Regions from separate parts of the Homo sapiens genome. Here all the other regions are linked to region 1. Evidence: promoter capture Hi-C in 16 types of primary human blood cells and fetal thymus (Javierre and others, 2016). All regions are on one chromosome and are shown on one strand. Each heading gives the region's core, a stretch centred on a gene start or on the middle of the fragment in contact. The rest is flanking DNA. Distances are from core to core; before and after follow the strand shown.

Region 1 (2,967 bases), core at 202-2,701:
TAGGAATAATAGTAACAGCCTCTTTGGCTTTTGTAGGAAGTAAATGACATGAAGCGTATAAACAAATACTGCATGACAATAAATATTTGTCCTTATTTGTTGAGGACATCCAAAGGACATTCAGGGGCAAAAGTAATCCAAGAGTCAAGACTGAATGCCTAGTGCGGGAAAAGACACACAAGACAACATTTAGGGGAGCTGGTACAGAAATGACTTCCCAGGAAGGAAGTCTGTACCCCGCTGGCTGAGCCATCCTTCCCGGGCCTAGGCACCCTTGTCAGCGCAATGAGCAAGGGAGAGAAGGCAGGCTGCAGTGCAGCCCTCAGAAGGGCCAGAGCACTCCCTGGCTTCAGTCCTTCGCTCCAAGCCCTGTGTGGAGTGGGCTGTGGCTTGGTAACTAAATGCTACTTCAGGTCAAGAGCAGGGGATATATCTGGGCAGTTCTAGAGCATTCTAAACTATCTGGACACTAACTGGACAGTGGACGGTTTGTGTTTAATCCAGGAGAAAGTGGCATGGCAGAAGGTTCATTTCTATAATTCAGGACAGACACAATGAAGAACAAGGGCAGCGTTTGAGGTCAGAAGTCCTCATTTACGGGGGTCGAATACGAATGATCTCTCCTAATTTTTCCTTCTTCCCCAACTCAGATGGATGTTACATCCCTGCTTAACAACAAAAAAAGACCCCCCGCCCCGCAAAATCCACACTGACCACCCCCTTTAACAAAACAAAACCAAAAACAAACAAAAATATAAGAAAGAAACAAAACCCAAGCCCAGAACCCTGCTTTCAAGAAGAAGTAAATGGGTTGGCCGCTTCTTTGCCAGGTCCTGCGCCTTGCTCCTTTGGTTCGTTCTAAAGATAGAAATTCCAGGTTGCTCGTGCCTGCTTTTGACGTTGGGGGTTAAAAAATGAGGTTTTGCTGTCTCAACAAGCAAAGAAAATCCTATTTCCTTTAAGCTTCACTCGTTCTCATTCTCTTCCAGAAACGCCTGCCCCACCTCTCCAAACCGAGAGAAAAAACGAAATGCGGATAAAAACGCACCCTAGCAGCAGTCCTTTATACGACACCCCCGGGAGGCCTGCGGGGTCGGATGATTCAAGCTCACGGGGACGAGCAGGAGCGCTCTCGACTTTTCTAGAGCCTCAGCGTCCTAGGACTCACCTTTCCCTGATCCTGCACCGTCCCTCTCCTGGCCCCAGACTCTCCCTCCCACTGTTCACGAAGCCCAGGTGGGCCGTCGGCCGGGGAGCGGAGGGGGCGCGTGGGGTGCAGGCGGCGCCAAGGGCGCGTGCACCTGTGGGCGCGGGGCGCGAGGGCCCCTCCCGGCGCGAGCGGGCGCAGTTCCCCGGCGGCGCCGCTAGGGGTCTCTCTCGGGTGCCGAGCGGGGTGGGCCGGATCAGCTGACTCGCCTGGCTCTGAGCCCCGCCGCCGCGCTCGGGCTCCGTCAGTTTCCTCGGCAGCGGTAGGCGAGAGCACGCGGAGGAGCGTGCGCGGGGGCCCCGGGAGACGGCGGCGGTGGCGGCGCGGGCAGAGCAAGGACGCGGCGGATCCCACTCGCACAGCAGCGCACTCGGTGCCCCGCGCAGGGTCGCGATGCTGCCCGGTTTGGCACTGCTCCTGCTGGCCGCCTGGACGGCTCGGGCGCTGGAGGTGGGTGCCGCGCCTCGGAAGGCGGGGGGAGGCTGCACGGTGGGGACGCGATACCCCCCAAGACCTTAACCCAAGTCTTTAATGCAGAGAAGCCGGGGGTCCGTCAATGGGACCCCTCTCCTCTCCGCCCCCGCTTGCGGACGTCCAGCGCATCCCCGCTTTCGGCCCAGCCCTGCCCCAGGGAGTCGCGCTCCGGCCCGCTGAGAGGGAGCGGGCGAGGCGCTGGTCTCCCTGGTTCCGCGCCAGCCCGGGGCGAGAAGGGTAGGGGGCGACCCTGAGCCCAGACCCCGACTTAGTCCCTGCCTTGGAAGCGGGGGTCGGGGGAGGCGAGAGACATTCAGACAGGGGGGAAGGGGGAAGGAGCACGTGGGGAAAACCGAAAACGCAGCGTCCCTAAAGCCAGTCCTTCGCTCTTGAATCGTTGCCCTTTCCTTTCTCTTGGGCCCTGGGGAGGAGGAGGAGGAGTCGGGACAGCCCAGGAAGCTAGGAGCCCCTCGCTTTTCCCTGCGTTCTCCGCCTCGTTTCACCTTCCTCTCTCACCCCCATCCCCCTTCCTTGCTCCAACCTCTTTTCGCGGCTGCTGGCGGCGGCAGCCTGGGTGCGACCCTAGCCCGAGCCGGCGTCGGGGTCGCGCACCGCCTTCCACAGGCAAACTTTGTGCATGTCCGCGTCTCCCTTTTGTGTAACTTGCGAGAAATGGGAGGGGTCGGAGACCCATAGCCACCCCGCGCCTTCCCCAAGTCTGGACGTCCCGGGAGTTCGCTCGCACCCTAAGCTCTGTCTGAGAGGCAGAAGGTCCGCGGGAACAAAAGCCGCGACACCCCGCCCTCGCCGTGGGCCGAGCCGCGTTAGTCTCAGTGCGCCACCGAGGCTCCCGCCCGGCTCCCTTCCCGGGGCTGCGCGTCCGCCTGGGAGGGGGCAGAGACGCTGCCGGGGCTTCTGGCGGAGCCTCGGGGCCCCTCTGCTTCCCACCCTCGGATCACCTCCGAGGCTTAATTCTGTGCTGGGCTGTAAAGTCCTTGGCGGGGAGGAAATAAGGCGGAGAGTGGGATGTGCGTCTGGAAAGGGCAGTGGCGGATGGTGGGGAGGCACGGGCTCTGTCCTGTGCATCCAAGGAGGCGTTTGTCTGATTAAGGCGCGGCCTCTTCCCTGGCAGCTCTGGGGACTCTGGTTTAGTTCCCCTGGGGGCACAGGATGCTGGGGAGGGTCCGAAGGGTCTTTTTTTTAGGGTGCAGATAAAAGGATCGAATTGAGTGAAGATTAAGACGGAGAAGATGGCGCCTCTGCAGTGCAGCAAAGAAAAGCTGTGT
Region 2 (2,967 bases), core at 213-2,712, 370 kb before region 1:
TTTAAACCCATATATTCACAATTCAAAAATATAGAGATAGATGTTGTTTTTACTTACAAGATCATCCTTTAGAATTTATTTAAATAATGTTTAATAATTTTAATACAATTCTCTTTCCTCTGACATTATCATCGATCCGTGTTTCTTCAGGGTCACCAGGATGTATACCCTTCAAAAGCATCATTAGAGATGGGCCCTGACTGTAGAGTTTGTGAAATTTAGTTCTGTAAGTCAAAAGAGATTTATAAACACGGCATTCTTATGGTAGACATTTAGCTAATAAATCCTAAATCAGTTTTGATTTATAAATCCTTTTATTGCCCTTGGGATTCAGGTGACTGATTTATGAGTCAGTATGCTAAAATCTATAATTTGACCAGGCATAAATCTTATTTTACGATTTCTGTTTTAACATATGATTCATAAATCCTGGTCAGGTTCTGTGTCTGGTTTTCTAAGCGCTCTGCATTTAACAGTGAGTCTTGTTAAGTTCATATTTTAGGATTTTGACGACTAAAAGTGATTATTCGTACAGAATTCAAGTAAATAAAAACAGCAGCTGAACAGTTTTCCTGTATTCTGGTTGGTGGATTAGTAGAAGTGAGCTTTAAATTCATTAATAATCTCAAAATGTTTTAGTCTTCAGAACGGTAAAATATCGCCATTAAAATTCTTCTTCACTGTATCTGTCAGACAGTTAGAAATGGTATGTTAGTGACAACAAGTTGTCTTCTAATGTCCAATCTCCCTTATCTAATATTGATATAAATTTAATAGAGCACAATAGCTTTCCAGGGTAAGCACTACAATCCCAGCCCTCCTTGCAGCTATGTGTGACCATTTATTTTATTTTATTTATTTATTATTATTATTATTTTTTGAGATGGAGTCTCACTCTGTAGCCCAGGCTGGAGTGCAGTGCCGTGATTTCGGTTCACTGCAAACTCCGCCTCCCGGGTTCAAGCAATTCTCCTGCCTCAGCCTCCTGAGTAGCTGGGATTACAGACGTCCACAACCACACCCCCTAATTTTTGTATTTTTTAATAGAGACGGGGTTTTACCTTGTTGGTCAGGCTGGTCTCGAACTCCGGACCTCAGGTGATCCACCCGCCTCGGCCTCCCAAAGTGCTGGGATTACAGGCGTGAGCCACCACGCCCAGCTATATGTGACCATTTAACTAACTTCAGCCAATGGTGCATGAGCAGAGATGATTGTGTGCAACTTCAGTACATGCTTTGCTGAGGTGCCAAAGTAGCACAGGTCCCAGTGCGGAAGGAAAGGAGCACAGGCCCCTGACATGTGGGTGCCATTCTTTGAGCCCTGCTGCACTTAAACCTGGACAGAGAGATGAAGGAAAAAACAACCTATAATTTTTTTTTTGAAAAAGATTATTTTACTGTCTCTTTCTACATTGAATTGAATATCATAACTTTTTAAAATTTTATTTTTATTTTAAGTTCTGGGGTACATGTGCAGGTTTGTTACATAGGTAAACATGTGCCATGGTGGTTTGCTGCACCTGTCAACCCACCACTTAGGTATTAAGCCCGGCGTGCATTAGCTGTTTTTCCTACTGCTCTTCCTCCCCGCATCCACCACGCAACAGACTCCAGTGTGTGCCGTTCCCCTCCCTGTGTCCCTGTGTTCTCCTTGTTCAGCTCCTACTTCTAAGTGAGAACATGCAGACATGCAGTGTTTGGTTTTCTGTTCCTGTGTTAGTTTGCTAAGGAATTTTTAAAGACTTTAACTTGAATCTTTTTATAGCAGACAAACATTCTTTAGCTTTTCAAAAAATTGTGTTGAATATATCATTTAGGCATTGGGCTAAACATTGTGAAAATGAAGGTAAATGTGAGTCAGTCCTTGCCTTTGTTAAATTTCCTAAATAGTAATTTGCTTCTTAACACCCTAATACATGGAATTGTTATTAATTTTGTTTTCTAGTTGTTTGTTGCTGCAGAGTATGAAAATACAATTGGTGTTAGTGTATTGATCATATATAAAACAACATTGCTAAATTCACTTTGTACATCTAGTAATTACTTTATACATTGATTAGGATTTTCTATGTAAAAAAAATCTTATCTGCAAATAGAGTTTTACTTCTTTCTGATCTGTATGCCTTTTAATTCTTTTTGGTTTTTACTTTATGTCTCTGGAAATATTGACTAGAAGTTGTTGGAGTAGGTATCTTTGCCTTGTTCTGGAACATAGGAAAAAAACAATTAAGCATGATGCTAATTGTAATGTTTTTCATTGATTCTTTTTATCGGATTGAGGAAATTTCTTTCTGTTCCTAATTCGCTGAGAGTTCTGTAATGAATGGAGGTTGAATTTCATCAAACGCTTTTTGCATCTGTTGAAATGATCGCATGTTTAGGTCTCTTGTAAGGTGAAATATATTGATAAATTTTCAAAATTTAAATGATGTTTGCATTCCTGGGAAAATATATCTCTGACACACACACACACACACACACACACACACACACACGCACACACACACATATTCTCTCTCTCTCTCTTTCTCTCTCCCGCCCCGCCCCCGTCCCCCACCTTCTTATGCTGTTTATGTTGCATGGTATAATAGAATATCTTCCCAGCCCTTAAGGGAGTTTCTGTATTCAGAGGGCATCTACTTGATTTTTTTGTATTCAAAGTACCTTTCATGTAGACAACAAATAGTTCATGCTTTTTAAGTAATTCTGACAATCTCTGCCTTTTAAAATACTTCATTTCCTACTGATGTGGTGGGATTTAGTCTTTCAGTTTACTGTTATCTTTTCTGTTTGTCCCACTTGCTTTGTGTTTCCTTCATGCTCCTCTCCTGCTACTTTTGAGTTAATTGAAATTGCTTTTAGAATTCCATTTTAATTTATCTTGGCTTTTTAGCTTACCTCTTTATTTTATTATTTCAGTGGTGCTCTAAAGATTGCAATATGCACCCTTAATTTTTCTATTGAAAG
Region 3 (2,967 bases), core at 126-2,625, 360 kb after region 1:
TAATTAACATAAAAGTAACCATCTTAACCATTTTTAAGTACAGTAGGCCTTCTGTAACTGCAGGCTCCACATCCATAGATTCATCCGAATGCAGAGCAGTCAAAATATTTTTTAAAATGCAACATTAAAAAATTAATACAAATAACACAGTCTGACAACTATTTACATAGCATTTACATTGTACTGGGTATTATAAGCGATCTAAAAATGATTTAAAGTATATAGGAGGATGTGCAGAGGTTATATGCAAATACTACCATTCTATATAAGGGATTTGAGTATCCACAGATTTTGGCAATGAGCAGGATCTTGGAACCAATCTTGCACAAATATTGAGGGATGACTGTATACAGTTCGATAGCACTAAGTACATTCACATTGCTGTGCAACCAATCTCCAAAGGTCTTTTCACTTTGCAAAACTGAAACTCTGTACCCATTAAACAACTTCCCATTCTCTCTATTCCCCAGCTCCTGGCAACCATCATGCTATTTTCTGTCTTTATGAATTTGACTATTTGAGGTACCTGATATAAGTGGAATCATACAGTATTTATCTTTTTCTGACTGGCTTATTTCCCTTAGTATAATGTCCTGAATCTAGGTTCATCCATGTTGTAGCATGTGTCAGAATGTCCTTCTTTGGCTGGGCACAGTGGCTCACGCCTGTAATCCCAGCACTTTCAGAGGCCAAGGCGGGTGGATCACCTGAGGTCAGGAGTTTGAGACCAGCCTGAGCAATATGGTGAAACCCCATCTCTACTAAAAATACAAAAATTAGCCAGGCATGGTGTCATGCAACTGTAGTCCCAGCTACTCAGGAGGCTGAGACAGGAGAATTGCTTGAACCCAGGAGGTGGAGGTTGCAGTGAGCTGAGATCGAGCCACTGCACTCCAGCCTGGGCGACAGAGTGAGACTCTTTCTCAAAAAAAAAAAAAAAAAAAAAAAAAAGAAGAAGAAAGAACGTCCTTCCTTTTCTGAGGCTGAATAATATTCTATTGTATGTACATACCACATTTTGTTTATTTATCCACCAGTGGACGCTTGGGTTAGCTTCTACTTTTTGGCTATTTTAAATGATGCTGCTGTGAACATGGGTGGATAAGTATCTCATTGAGACCCTGATTGCAATTCTTTTCGATGTATAACCAGAAGGGGAGTGGTTTGATCATATGGTAATTTTATATTCAATCTTTGTTTTGAAAACAATATAGTTTTCCACAGCATCTGCACCATTTTACAATCCCACCAACAGTGAATTTCTCCAGTTCCTCCACATCCTTAGCAACAGTTGCTATTTTCAGGTTTTTTAATAGTAGTATCTCTTTGTGGTTTTCATTTGTATCTCCCTAATGATTAGTAATACTGAACATCTTTTTTGTGCTTGTTGCTCATTTGTACATCTTTAGAGAAATGTCCATTCAAATTATTTGCCCTAAGGCTAGGTGTGGTGACTTATGCCTGTAATCCCTGCACTTTGGGAGGCTGAGATGGGCAGATCATTTGAGGTCAGGAGTTCAAGACCTGCCTGGCTAACTGGTGAAACCCGCTCTCTACTAAAAATACAAAAATTACCTTAGTGTGATGGTGGTCCCCTGTAATCCCAGCTACTCAGGAGGCTGAGGCAGAAGAATCGCTTGAACCCAGGAGGCTGAGGTTGCAGTGAGCCGAGATTGCGCCATCGCACTGCAGCCTGGGTGACAAGAGTGAAACTCCATCTCAAAAAAAAAAAAAAATTCTTTGCCCGTTTTTAAAATTGGACTGTTTGGTTTTCTTTGCTGAGTTGTAGGAGTTCTTTATACTGTATATTATGGATATTAACCCCTTATTAGAAATGTGATTTGTAAGTATGTTCTCATTGTGTAAGTTGCTTTTTCCTCATTTGTTGATTTTGGCTATTCATACGCATATACAGAAGTTTTAAATTTTAATTTAGTCAAATTTATCTATTTTTACTTTTATTGCCATATCCGAGAAATAATTTTCAAACCTAACATCATGAAAATTTTCTGCTATAATTTCTTCTAAGAGTTTTATAGTTTTAGCTCTTATGTTTAGGTCTTTGATCCGCTTTGAGTTAACTTTTGTGTACGTTGTAAAGTAAGGGACCAATTTCATTGTCATGCATGTGGACATCCAGTTTTTCCAGTACCATTTGTTTAAAAGACTGCCCTTTTCCCATTGAATGATCTTAGCAACCTTGTCAAAAATTATTTGACCATATGTGACAGGGGTTATTTCCGTTTTTTCTATTCCATTCCACTAGTCTCTATGGTCTGTCTCCATGCCAGTTTTGTTTTGATTATTGCAGCTTTGCGTACCATACTATTTTCACTCCCACCAATAATACCTGAAAGTCCCAGTTACTCCACATTCTCACCAAAACTGGCACTGTCAGTCTTTTTAATTTTGGCCATTCTCGCAGAGGTAGGATGTGTAGTGGTATCTTAATAGGGCTTTAATCTCCATTTTCTGATGCCTAAATAAATATGAGCATCTTCTTATGGTAATATTAGCCTTATTAATTAATTTATTTATTCAGAGACGGAGTCTCGCTCTGTCGTCTAGGCTGGAGTGCAGTGGTGCGATCTCGGCTCACTGCAAGCTCCGCCTCCCGGGTTCACGCCATTCTCCCGCCTCAGCCTCTTGAGTAGCTGGGACTACAGGCGCCCGCCACCACGCCCGGCTAATTTTTTGTATTTTTAGTAGAGACGGAGTTTCACCATGTTAGCCAGGATAGTCTCTATCTCCTGACCTCGTGATCAGCCCGCCTCGGCCTCCCAAAGTGCTGGGATTACAAGCATGAGCCACCGCGCCCGACCTATTTATTTTTTTATGACAGGGTCTCACTCCCATCGCCCAGGAGGGAGTGTAGTGGCACAATCATGGCTCATTGCAGCCTCCACCTCCCGGGCTCAAGCAACATTCCCACCTCATTTTTTATTTTTTGTAGAGACAACGTCTCCC
Region 4 (2,967 bases), core at 325-2,824, 330 kb after region 1:
AAATGAACCCAGAGGAAACATAATGTAATGCCTAACTCGGAGAGACAAACTACAGGTTTTCTAATCATAAGGAAAGAAGAAATATTTGGTTTATTTTGATAGGCTTTCCTACACAATACACTATTCATCATGTAAGTTACACAAATTTAAAAGGCTGAGGTCTGGCAAATTTCCCAGAATAAGCCATGCAGATTCTGAGAAGTTCCCGGGACCATGGAATCCATCAAGAAAATGCCTTTGTAGCCTCAATGTCTATAAAAGGATAGTCTGAGAGTTGGATATTATGATTAAGGAGATGCTCTTCTTATAGGGTATGGTATATTGCAAATGACTGTAATTCTGACTACTTCTAAGTGGTTTATGGCTGTCAACCGAGATTTCTAGTTTCCAGGCCAGACTTATCCAATTTAAAGAGAGGGAAACTGCTATATGTGCTAGACAGAGTGGGCTCATCTGCTTTCCACTACCAAGAATTTCAGCCTCTATCAAAGTGGGATTTTTTTTCTTAATTTCCCCAGAGGGATTCCAGCTTTTACCAAAGCTTGAATACATAAAAGTTATAATTCACTACTCAGCATACCATGTTCCTTCCTTGTATGCTAAATGTGGATTCTTACTGAGCTCTTCTAAATACCTATTTCTCAATAGCCTCCTGTTCTTGATTGAGTTGTGTTCCCGCAGAAAGATATGTTGAAGCCCTAACCCCCAGTTCAAGTACATGTGAATTTATTTGAAAACAGGGTCTTTGCAGATGTAACCAAGTTAAGATGAGGTCGTACTGGATTGGAATGCACACTAGTTCCAATGACTGGTGTCATGTGAAGGCCCTGTGAAGACAGGGACACAGAGACATCCAGACAGAATGCCACATGATGGAGATAGAGATTTGGAGTCAGGCATCAGCAAGCCAAGGAGCACCAAGAACTGCTGGCACTCACCAGGAGCTGGGAGAGAGGCATGGAAGAGATTCTCCCTCAGAGCCTCCAGAATGAACCAACCTTGTCAACACCTTGATTTTGGACTTCTGGCCTCTGTAACTGGGAAAGAATACATTTCTGTTGTGTGAAGCCACACAGTTTGTGGTCTTTTTTTTTTACGGCAGCCCTAGGAAACGAATACACTTTCTGCTAGGTATTGCTTCCAAATTAGATCACTGCTTTTTGCTTAAAGTGTTTTCATTTCCAGAAAAGTCCTCAGAAGAAATTATTATTGTTACTCTCAGTGAAAGTGGAGCTGTCTTATGTAATTGCTGACAAGCCAGTAAGGTGATGGATCCATACTGTTCTTATGCCCACACACACAGGGTGCAGTTGCCAGAGGCCAAAGAAAAAAAATGTGGGCCAACCACAAAGACTGATTTTTACCACATCCACAACTCTTCCAGCCTCAGATTACCAGTACACAACACATTATAAAGAGACATTTTTCACCACCATAGATTTGTGAAAGGATCATGTACCCGTGGCATACTATGGATCAAGGCCTATCGTCAATATTCACAAAAAAAAGGGTTAAGACAGTCACCAAGGCTCAAATTTCTCATTAAACTATGATATTTTAAAACAAAAGCAAGTTTGCTCCTTTCAAATTTTTTATTTACCCTAACCTGGTGCTGCTAGGACTTGGCTTGTGTGTTTACCTTGGGAAGCTCAGGGCTATACCAATCCCTCTGTTCCAAGGATCTTCTTCCAATATGTGACCTGCAGCTTGCAGGAAACACATAAAAAGAGGAACGTGTAAGGTTTTGCAAATTCTTTTTTTTTTTTTTTTTTTTTTTTTTGAGACGGAGTCTCGCTCTGTCACCCAGGCTGAAGTGCAGTGGTACTATCTCGGCTCACTGCAAGCTCCGCCTCCCGGGTTCATGCCATTCTCCTGCCTCAGCCTCCCGAGTAGCTTGGACTACAGGCACCTGCCACCATACCTGGCTAATTTTTTGTATTTTTAGTAGAGACAGGGTTTCACCGTGTTGGCCAGGATGGTCTCGATTTCCAGACCTCATGATCCACCTCCCTCAGCCTCCCAAAGTGCTGGGATTACAGGCGTGAGCCACTGCGCCTGGCCTGCAAATTCTTTAGATAGCAAATCTGCAAAATTGGAGAGAGGACTGGCTTCCACCCAGCAACGTAGGGAGTCAGGGGCTAGGCCTGCTTCAGAGCAGAGTGGGAGGGTCCATTGTTTCTATGGTGCTTTCAATTCATGTCTCAAAAGAGGACTTACTGAAAAGACAGTACCAGAGACTCAGCAAGGCACCTCTATGAACCCAGATTTGCACAACAGCGAGTCTGGAAATGGTGCCCACATAGAGTACAGAGGCCTTCCAAGTCGGCCTTGGCCTGTGTCCTCAGCAACAGTCACTCATTTCCAGTGCTGTGTGGAACATCCAACTATCTTTCCTCTTAAAAAAACAAACCAAAAAAAAGACAATTTGCTTTTGACCTAATCTGTCTTGTAGTTAGGAAATGTCTTTCCTCCTTTCAGACACTCTTTACAAAAGATAAACCCACACTCTCCCATCTCGTTTACTCTTCAATCCATGGTAATCTGGCTTTCCACAAAACTCTCAATTCATCATTACACAATGGCCCTCACCAGCATTGACAAAGCTTCCTGTCGAGGAAAAGAGTCAAACTCTGTTAAAATATTTGAAGAGATTTATTCTGAGCCAAACATGAGTGACCACGGCCCCAGGTCCTAAGAATACGTGCCCGAGGGAGTCAGTCTGCAGCTTGGCTTCATACATTTTAGGGAGACGTAAGACATCAGTCAATACATGTAAGGTGTATGTTGCAGGGGTAGAGGGGTGAAGAGGGAGGCTTCCGGTCATAGGTGAATTCAAAGATTTTTGATTGACAATTGTTTGAAAGAGTAAAGGTGGTATGTAAAGACCTGGAATCAGAAGGGAGTGTCCGGGTTAAGACAAGGGGATGTGGAGGCCAAGGTTCTTATTATGCAGGTGAAGCCTCCAGG
Region 5 (2,967 bases), core at 233-2,732, 340 kb before region 1:
ACTTTGCAATCACTTGCTCCTCTTTTATCACAACATCATATAAAACATCTTATAAAATTCATTGTGCTTTCTGTTACCCTCCATTTTAAAAGCCAGCACTTGGGAATGTTTCAGAATATCGATTCAGTGAACTTCTGTTGTACAAAGCTTTATCTCATTGTTGATATGCTGTCTGCATTCCAGCATATGACTATGGGCATCTATTTGTGTCTGATCTTATTGGATCCATCTTCTTTTGTTCATCACAGTAGAACTATGTGAGCCAATGACTAGGCAGGAAAATTCCATGACAAGATTCGATTAGAAAATTATCATCTAGGTTTTTATGTGTTGGTTACCCAAGTACTAACTGGTTTATCATCTTTAATAGTTTAGTCTCTGAATCTACTATTTTTAAATGAACTGTAAAGATGTTACTAATATTTAGTATGTGTGTATAACACAGATACCAGTGGCAAGAAACATCTCCAATCTAAAATAATGGGTGAAGTGTCTACTGAGGCAAATATCTGTTTACTATGTGAAATACTTCTCTATCACATATGGATACACACAAAGGGTAAACTTTCTCACAGATAATAAATGGCATGCTACAATAACGTCAGTTAGCAAGAAGTTCCCCATAGGGATAATGTGTTCATTTGGCAAGGAATTGAAACAGATAATTTGGATTCCTTCTACCCTAATGTTGTAAAAGTCTGCTGAGGAATTCCAGAAGACCCAAATCACTAGTAAAATAATAGAGAAATCCACATATTTGACTATTTTGTATTAAATGTATTTAAAAGTTTAGATTTGTTATTTATAATACTTCTTTGAATAGATAACACTGACAAATAGGATATCATTATTAATGCTAATATTTTACCATCCTCAACAAACTTGAAGTGACTAACAAAATTATTATATATAAATTCAATATCTTTTTGAAGTCTGACAACAAATGTACTTAGTACTCAAATCTATAAAATCTAATATTATCAAAAGATTTTAATATATCCTTAAATACATTCTAATGAGACTTTTCAAATAGCTGATATTTTGTCAGTATCATACCTTGTGCTAAATACACATGAATCCTTGCAACAATAGACTACATTGCACAATAGCCAATGTCCTCCAGCAACAGAACAGAAGATACCACACAAGCTGCCAGTATTGGATTCATTCACTGTTGAATGAATTTTGCTTTCGGTAATCTTAAGTGTTTGTTATACATCTGAATTTCCTTGGCATTTTCTTCATGCTCCATACATACAAAATAAACCAGTGCTGATACATAAACAGCTCCCTACCTCACTGGCTAGGTATCACAGCTGTTAAGCCAGCAGGTCTGGAAATGATAGCATTCTCTATGGCTCTAACAATGAGATAACTTTATAAATATTGATGTAAAATAGGAATGTAATTCATTTTATCTTATCTGGGCAGGTTTCCTATGCTCCATACTGCATTATTCATGTACTGGCATTTGAACGGTTGCCTACATTTGGAAATTCTGTTTACAAACTTTTATATTTGGGACTTACAAACCTTTCTGATATAAGCAGGATAAGTATTTTCCCCGATCTCATGAGTTTGAAAATAGAGTTCCAGAGCGGATACCTAAATTGAAGCCATGTGAATAGTGATTAGTTCAATGAGATCTTACATCCAGCCCTGCTGAATCCTGTTCTGTGCTCCCTACATTGCATCACACTGCATCTTAAGAAGATCATTCCAGAGTTGGTTGCTGTGTAAACCTGAGGAGTGCTCACCAATAGCCAAGTCTCCTCTCCTTCCAGAGCACTTAGAACATCATACTTCCCAGTCAGCCTTAACCCCCAGTTGGGTGAGATCATGGTACTAGCTCTGACCAATAGGCTATGAGCAGGAATGAGGTGTGTCACTTCTGGAACGAGTTGGATAAAAGCCTTCGTGAGATCCTCGGTAGCAAACATGGAAGCCATAGATTGAGATGGTGGAGCTATAGGATGAAAAATCCTGGATCACTGAGTCACTGCATAGAGGAGAGCTACCCTGGAGAGTCATCTGACTTAAGCAGGCTTTGACTGAGGAAGAAATAAACTTTTTCAGTAAAGCCACTGAGATCTGAGGGCCAGTTGTCACTGCAGCATAAGCTCAGCTTATTCTAACAAAACTAATCCACATCCTTTCTACAGCTGCTATCAGCATTATACCATTATTATCTCCTAATATATCATCTCCAGTTAAGATGTTAAAGGAAGTACAAAAACTGGTCTTTGGTTCTATGGAGAAAATAAAATAGTAAAAAGGGATAGGAAGTTATTAAGGCTTAGGTGCCACAATTTTAACTCAGTGGTCAAGAAAGAACTCACGTAAAATGTAACATTTGACCAATGACTTAACAGCATACAGATATCTGCAAGAAATACATTCTAGGAAAAAGGGAATTGTCGAGCATTTGATGTTTTAGGAGCAGCAAAGAGGTCAGTATAGCTGAATACAGTGACTGAGAGGGAGGAGTGTAAAGAGCAATGAGGTTAGAGAGACAAGGAGAACAAGGCATATCATGGAGGGGTTTGTAGGCTATTGTAAGGACTTTGCCTTTTACTCTGAGTGAAATGAGAAGCCTTTGAGTGTGATGCAGTGTAGCAATATGGTTTGATTTCTATTTTTAGAGGACTGTTTTCTAAAAGCAGATTTATGGCATTGAACAGTTATTTACAATGGAGAGTGTTGCAATATAATGTGTATTCGATCATGTGTTATTTTGAGGCATGGGCTAATCCTCACTAAACCAATGCTCGTGGTCTTAGTTCACAATGCACATTATACTGATGATAATCAAGCTTCTATCTAAGTTTCCTAATACCTTAAGCTGCAATCCTCTGATTTGAAACACTTGCCATAAAGTTATCAAATAGATCCTTGCAAGGATCTTTATTCTCCAGAATCTCCATAGTAAATCATCAAAAATAGTTGGATATAATTCCATAGCATATG
Region 6 (2,967 bases), core at 125-2,624, 320 kb after region 1:
GAAAAATATTGAAAGTCCGAAAAGTAGGTGTATTAAAATTCACAATGTTATTTTTATTTTCCATTTTTCTGAGATGAAGTCTTGCTCTGTTGCCCGGGCTGGAGTGCTGTGACACAATTTCAGCTCACAACCACCTCTGCCTCCTGAGCTCAAGCAATTCTCCCACCTCAGCATCCTGAGTCGCTGGGACTACAGACATGTGCCACCACACCCAGCTAATTTGGTATTTTTTTGTACAGACAAGGTTTGGCTATGTTGCCCAGCCTGGCCTCAACCCCTGGGCTCAAGTGATCTACCCGCCTCAGCCTCCCAAAGAGCTAGGATTACAGGCATAAGCCACTACTCCCACTACTCCCAGCCCACAGTGTTATTTTAAGTTTAATATTTTACTTATGCCAAAAGCTAATTTGTTATCACTCTGTATCAGCTTAAGCTAAGTAAAAATTATTAAAGATCATCTCTTGGACAAGAGAAATTGTCAAACACAGTAATTCTCTCAACTAAAAATGAAATTAGCAACAAAGTAGATTTTGAATATATTATTGATGAGTTTGTTTTTATTAAAACCAGTGGCCCCAGGCTCTAATGTGGCTCAGCGGGCACTGGTCTCTACTAAAATTTTGATATTTTGTTCATTATGGGTTTTTTTTCATTTAATTTTGATTTTTTAAAATATTATATTTGAATATACAGTAATTTATCCTGATTCCTTAGTATTAGTGTTCCCTTAAATTTTGTTCCTGAGGCAGATGCTTCATTGACCTCACCCTCATCTCTGTCTTTTGAAAAGATAAAACAAGAACTAACAGCCTAGTAGGAACAGGCAGCAGGCAGGAGGCACACAGGACACAAACAGGAGGTGGAAGTCCCTTCTTCCTCCCTCAGCCCTGCTGCTTCTGTCTTCCTTCCCAAGTAGAGGGAGCCTAACACGGAGCCTGCAGGCAAAGTAAAAATGCAGGTTGCAGAATCCTGGCCCCAGCATCAAAATGCCAACTATGGAAGGATAGATTTGATGCCAAAAGGTAATAGCCTCATAACTGGCACAGAGATGATTTCCCCTGAGCTGAATCCTGAAGGGTACATAGGATAATAATAATCACTTCTTGAGCACTCTTTGTAATGTTGCACAGTTAATCCATGGAAGTGTCTGAATCCAAACCTGTTTTAATCTCACCCAAAGCCCATGCTGTCAACCACTGTTCCATAGTGAAGCAGAGCAAGAACATTTTACACAAAGGAAAACAAAAGACAGCAAGACAAAGAATAGAAAAACATGGCACATGATGAAAACAAGCAGTTTAATATTAATATAACTGACATTGTAGAATATCTGTTATGTGCCTGACACTTCACTAAATGTTATTCTATGGTCTGAATGTGTTCCCCAAAGTTCATGTGTTGAAAACGTAATCTCCAATGCAGCAGTGTTGGGAGGCAGAACCTAATGAGAGGTGTTTAGGTCATGAGGGTTCCATCCTCATGAATGGATTAATGTTGTCATTGCAGGAGTGGGTTCATTATCAAGGGAGTGGTGTCTTTATAAAAGGTGAGTTCAGCACCCTTCACTTTTTCTTATTCTTGCATTCTCTCACCATGTGATGCCTTCTACCATGTTATGATGCAGCAAGAAGGTTCTCACCAGATGCAGACCCTCAGTCTTGGCCTTCCCAGCCTCCAGAACCGTGAGCCAAATAAACTTAAACTGTTTAAAAATTATTCAGTCTGTAGTATTCTATGATAGCAGCACAAAATGGACCAATGTGTGTTTTTATACAAATTATTTTTTAAATTCTTCCAACAACCCTATGAGTAGCTGCTCTTTGTATTCCCACCTGACATATGAGGAAACTAAGCCATGGAATACTATTTAAATCTTCCTGGGGTCACTCAGCTCATAGATGAAAAAACCATAATATAAACAGATGCTTTGACTCCAGAGCCCTTGCTCTCGGTCACTAGCCATACGTATCCCACAGATCATAAAATAAACATGAGGCCAAAGAGATATAGATGGGCCAGTTCATGGAGGCCATCCTGAAATGCATGGACTTTATTCTGTGTAAAAAGGGGGGCTGCTAGCACACTTTAAACAGCATCAGTTTTGTATTTTGGATGTATCACACTGGTCTGAGCCCAGTTGGGAAGACAGATTTTAAATATACAAATAGGAATTAAAGAAGCCAGTTAGAAAGCTAATGCAATGATTCAAACAAGCAAAAAGTAGAGAGTTCTGATACTAAGCGTGGAAAATAGGGGACATATTTAAAAGACTAGAGTTGTTTTATTAACACATAATAAATGTAAATATCTTCAGGGTACATGTGATAATTTGATACATTCATATAATCAAATCAAGGTAATTGAGATATCCATCACTTTGAATATTTATCATTTTTTAATGCTAAGAACATTTGAATTACTCTCTTCTTGCTAATTTGAAATGTACAATTGATTAACGTTAACCGTAGTCACCCCACTGATCTATCAAATACCAGGTGTTATTTCTTCTATCTAATTGTATATTTGTACCCATGAATCAATCAATCTTCATCTCCCCCTTCCCCCTACCTTTCCCGGCTTCTGGTAACTACCAATATACTCTCTATTTTATACAGTGCACTTTTTAGTCTCTGCACATGCAATATTTGAAAACAGAGATCTTTAACACACTAATGATTGGATGTGGATTAATGAAGAACAGGGAAGAGTAATGGGCTTTCAGGTTTTATTTTGGATGGCTGCTAAATTACAGTACCACCCACTGAGAGAAATACCAGAAAACAAAAGTCTAGTGAAATATAGATCAGTTACTTCCAACATTTGAGTTTTCCGGAGCTTTGGGCATATGTAGAAAGGTAAGGTAAGCCAAATCCATACTATCTTTGTTATGCCAGCTAAGAAATTTTAACTTAATTTTATTGAAAATGAAGATTGAAAATAAGTTTTGATTAGTAAAATGCAATGATC

What was found. The method cuts DNA at HindIII sites, captures the fragments that hold promoters and counts their contacts. A CHiCAGO score of 5 or more calls a contact.
Region 2: a contact is called between a fragment that was not itself captured here and the fragment with the promoter of APP in region 1, in 1 of 17 cell types (M2 macrophages). The highest score is 5.0, in M2 macrophages.
Region 3: a contact is called between a fragment that was not itself captured here and the fragment with the promoter of APP in region 1, in 1 of 17 cell types (fetal thymus). The highest score is 11.7, in fetal thymus.
Region 4: a fragment that was not itself captured here is called in contact with the fragment with the promoter of APP in region 1 in 2 of 17 cell types (fetal thymus and megakaryocytes); the score reaches 7.0 in fetal thymus.
Region 5: a fragment that was not itself captured here is called in contact with the fragment with the promoter of APP in region 1 in 1 of 17 cell types (endothelial precursors); the score reaches 5.7 in endothelial precursors.
Region 6: a fragment that was not itself captured here is called in contact with the fragment with the promoter of APP in region 1 in 3 of 17 cell types (neutrophils, fetal thymus and megakaryocytes); the score reaches 6.0 in neutrophils.

What each region holds. Positions count from the first base shown.
Region 1 is chr21:26,169,254-26,172,220 of GRCh38, reverse strand. It overlaps APP (amyloid beta precursor protein), which reads left to right and starts at 1,451. Exons shown (of 18, transcript NM_000484.4): 1 at 1,451-1,657. The coding sequence starts at 1,601. It overlaps APP-DT (APP divergent transcript), which reads right to left and starts at 1,354. Exons shown (of 4, transcript NR_186396.1): 1 at 1,169-1,354. RefSeq lists silencers at 1,099-1,928, 2,429-2,698 and enhancers at 1,716-2,240, 2,739-2,948. The HindIII fragment of the contact is 2,642 bases long and covers 966-2,967 here.
Region 2 is chr21:26,541,819-26,544,785 of GRCh38, reverse strand. The region is part of intron 2 of CYYR1 (cysteine and tyrosine rich 1); the gene reads left to right. All of the region lies in intron 2 of CYYR1-AS1 (CYYR1 antisense RNA 1), which reads right to left. Among named protein-coding and RNA genes, the nearest start is that of CYYR1, 30 kb to the left of the region's middle. The HindIII fragment of the contact is 6,910 bases long and covers 1-2,967 here.
Region 3 is chr21:25,812,531-25,815,497 of GRCh38, reverse strand. No RefSeq gene overlaps it. Among named protein-coding and RNA genes, the nearest start is that of GABPA, 79 kb to the right of the region's middle. The HindIII fragment of the contact is 8,358 bases long and covers 1-2,967 here.
Region 4 is chr21:25,834,950-25,837,916 of GRCh38, reverse strand. No RefSeq gene overlaps it. Among named protein-coding and RNA genes, the nearest start is that of GABPA, 100 kb to the right of the region's middle. The HindIII fragment of the contact is 2,062 bases long and covers 544-2,605 here.
Region 5 is chr21:26,508,706-26,511,672 of GRCh38, reverse strand. All of the region lies in intron 2 of CYYR1 (cysteine and tyrosine rich 1), which reads left to right. All of the region lies in intron 2 of CYYR1-AS1 (CYYR1 antisense RNA 1), which reads right to left. Among named protein-coding and RNA genes, the nearest start is that of CYYR1, 63 kb to the left of the region's middle. The HindIII fragment of the contact is 2,666 bases long and covers 150-2,815 here.
Region 6 is chr21:25,851,962-25,854,928 of GRCh38, reverse strand. No RefSeq gene overlaps it. Among named protein-coding and RNA genes, the nearest start is that of GABPA, 120 kb to the right of the region's middle. The HindIII fragment of the contact is 7,481 bases long and covers 1-2,967 here.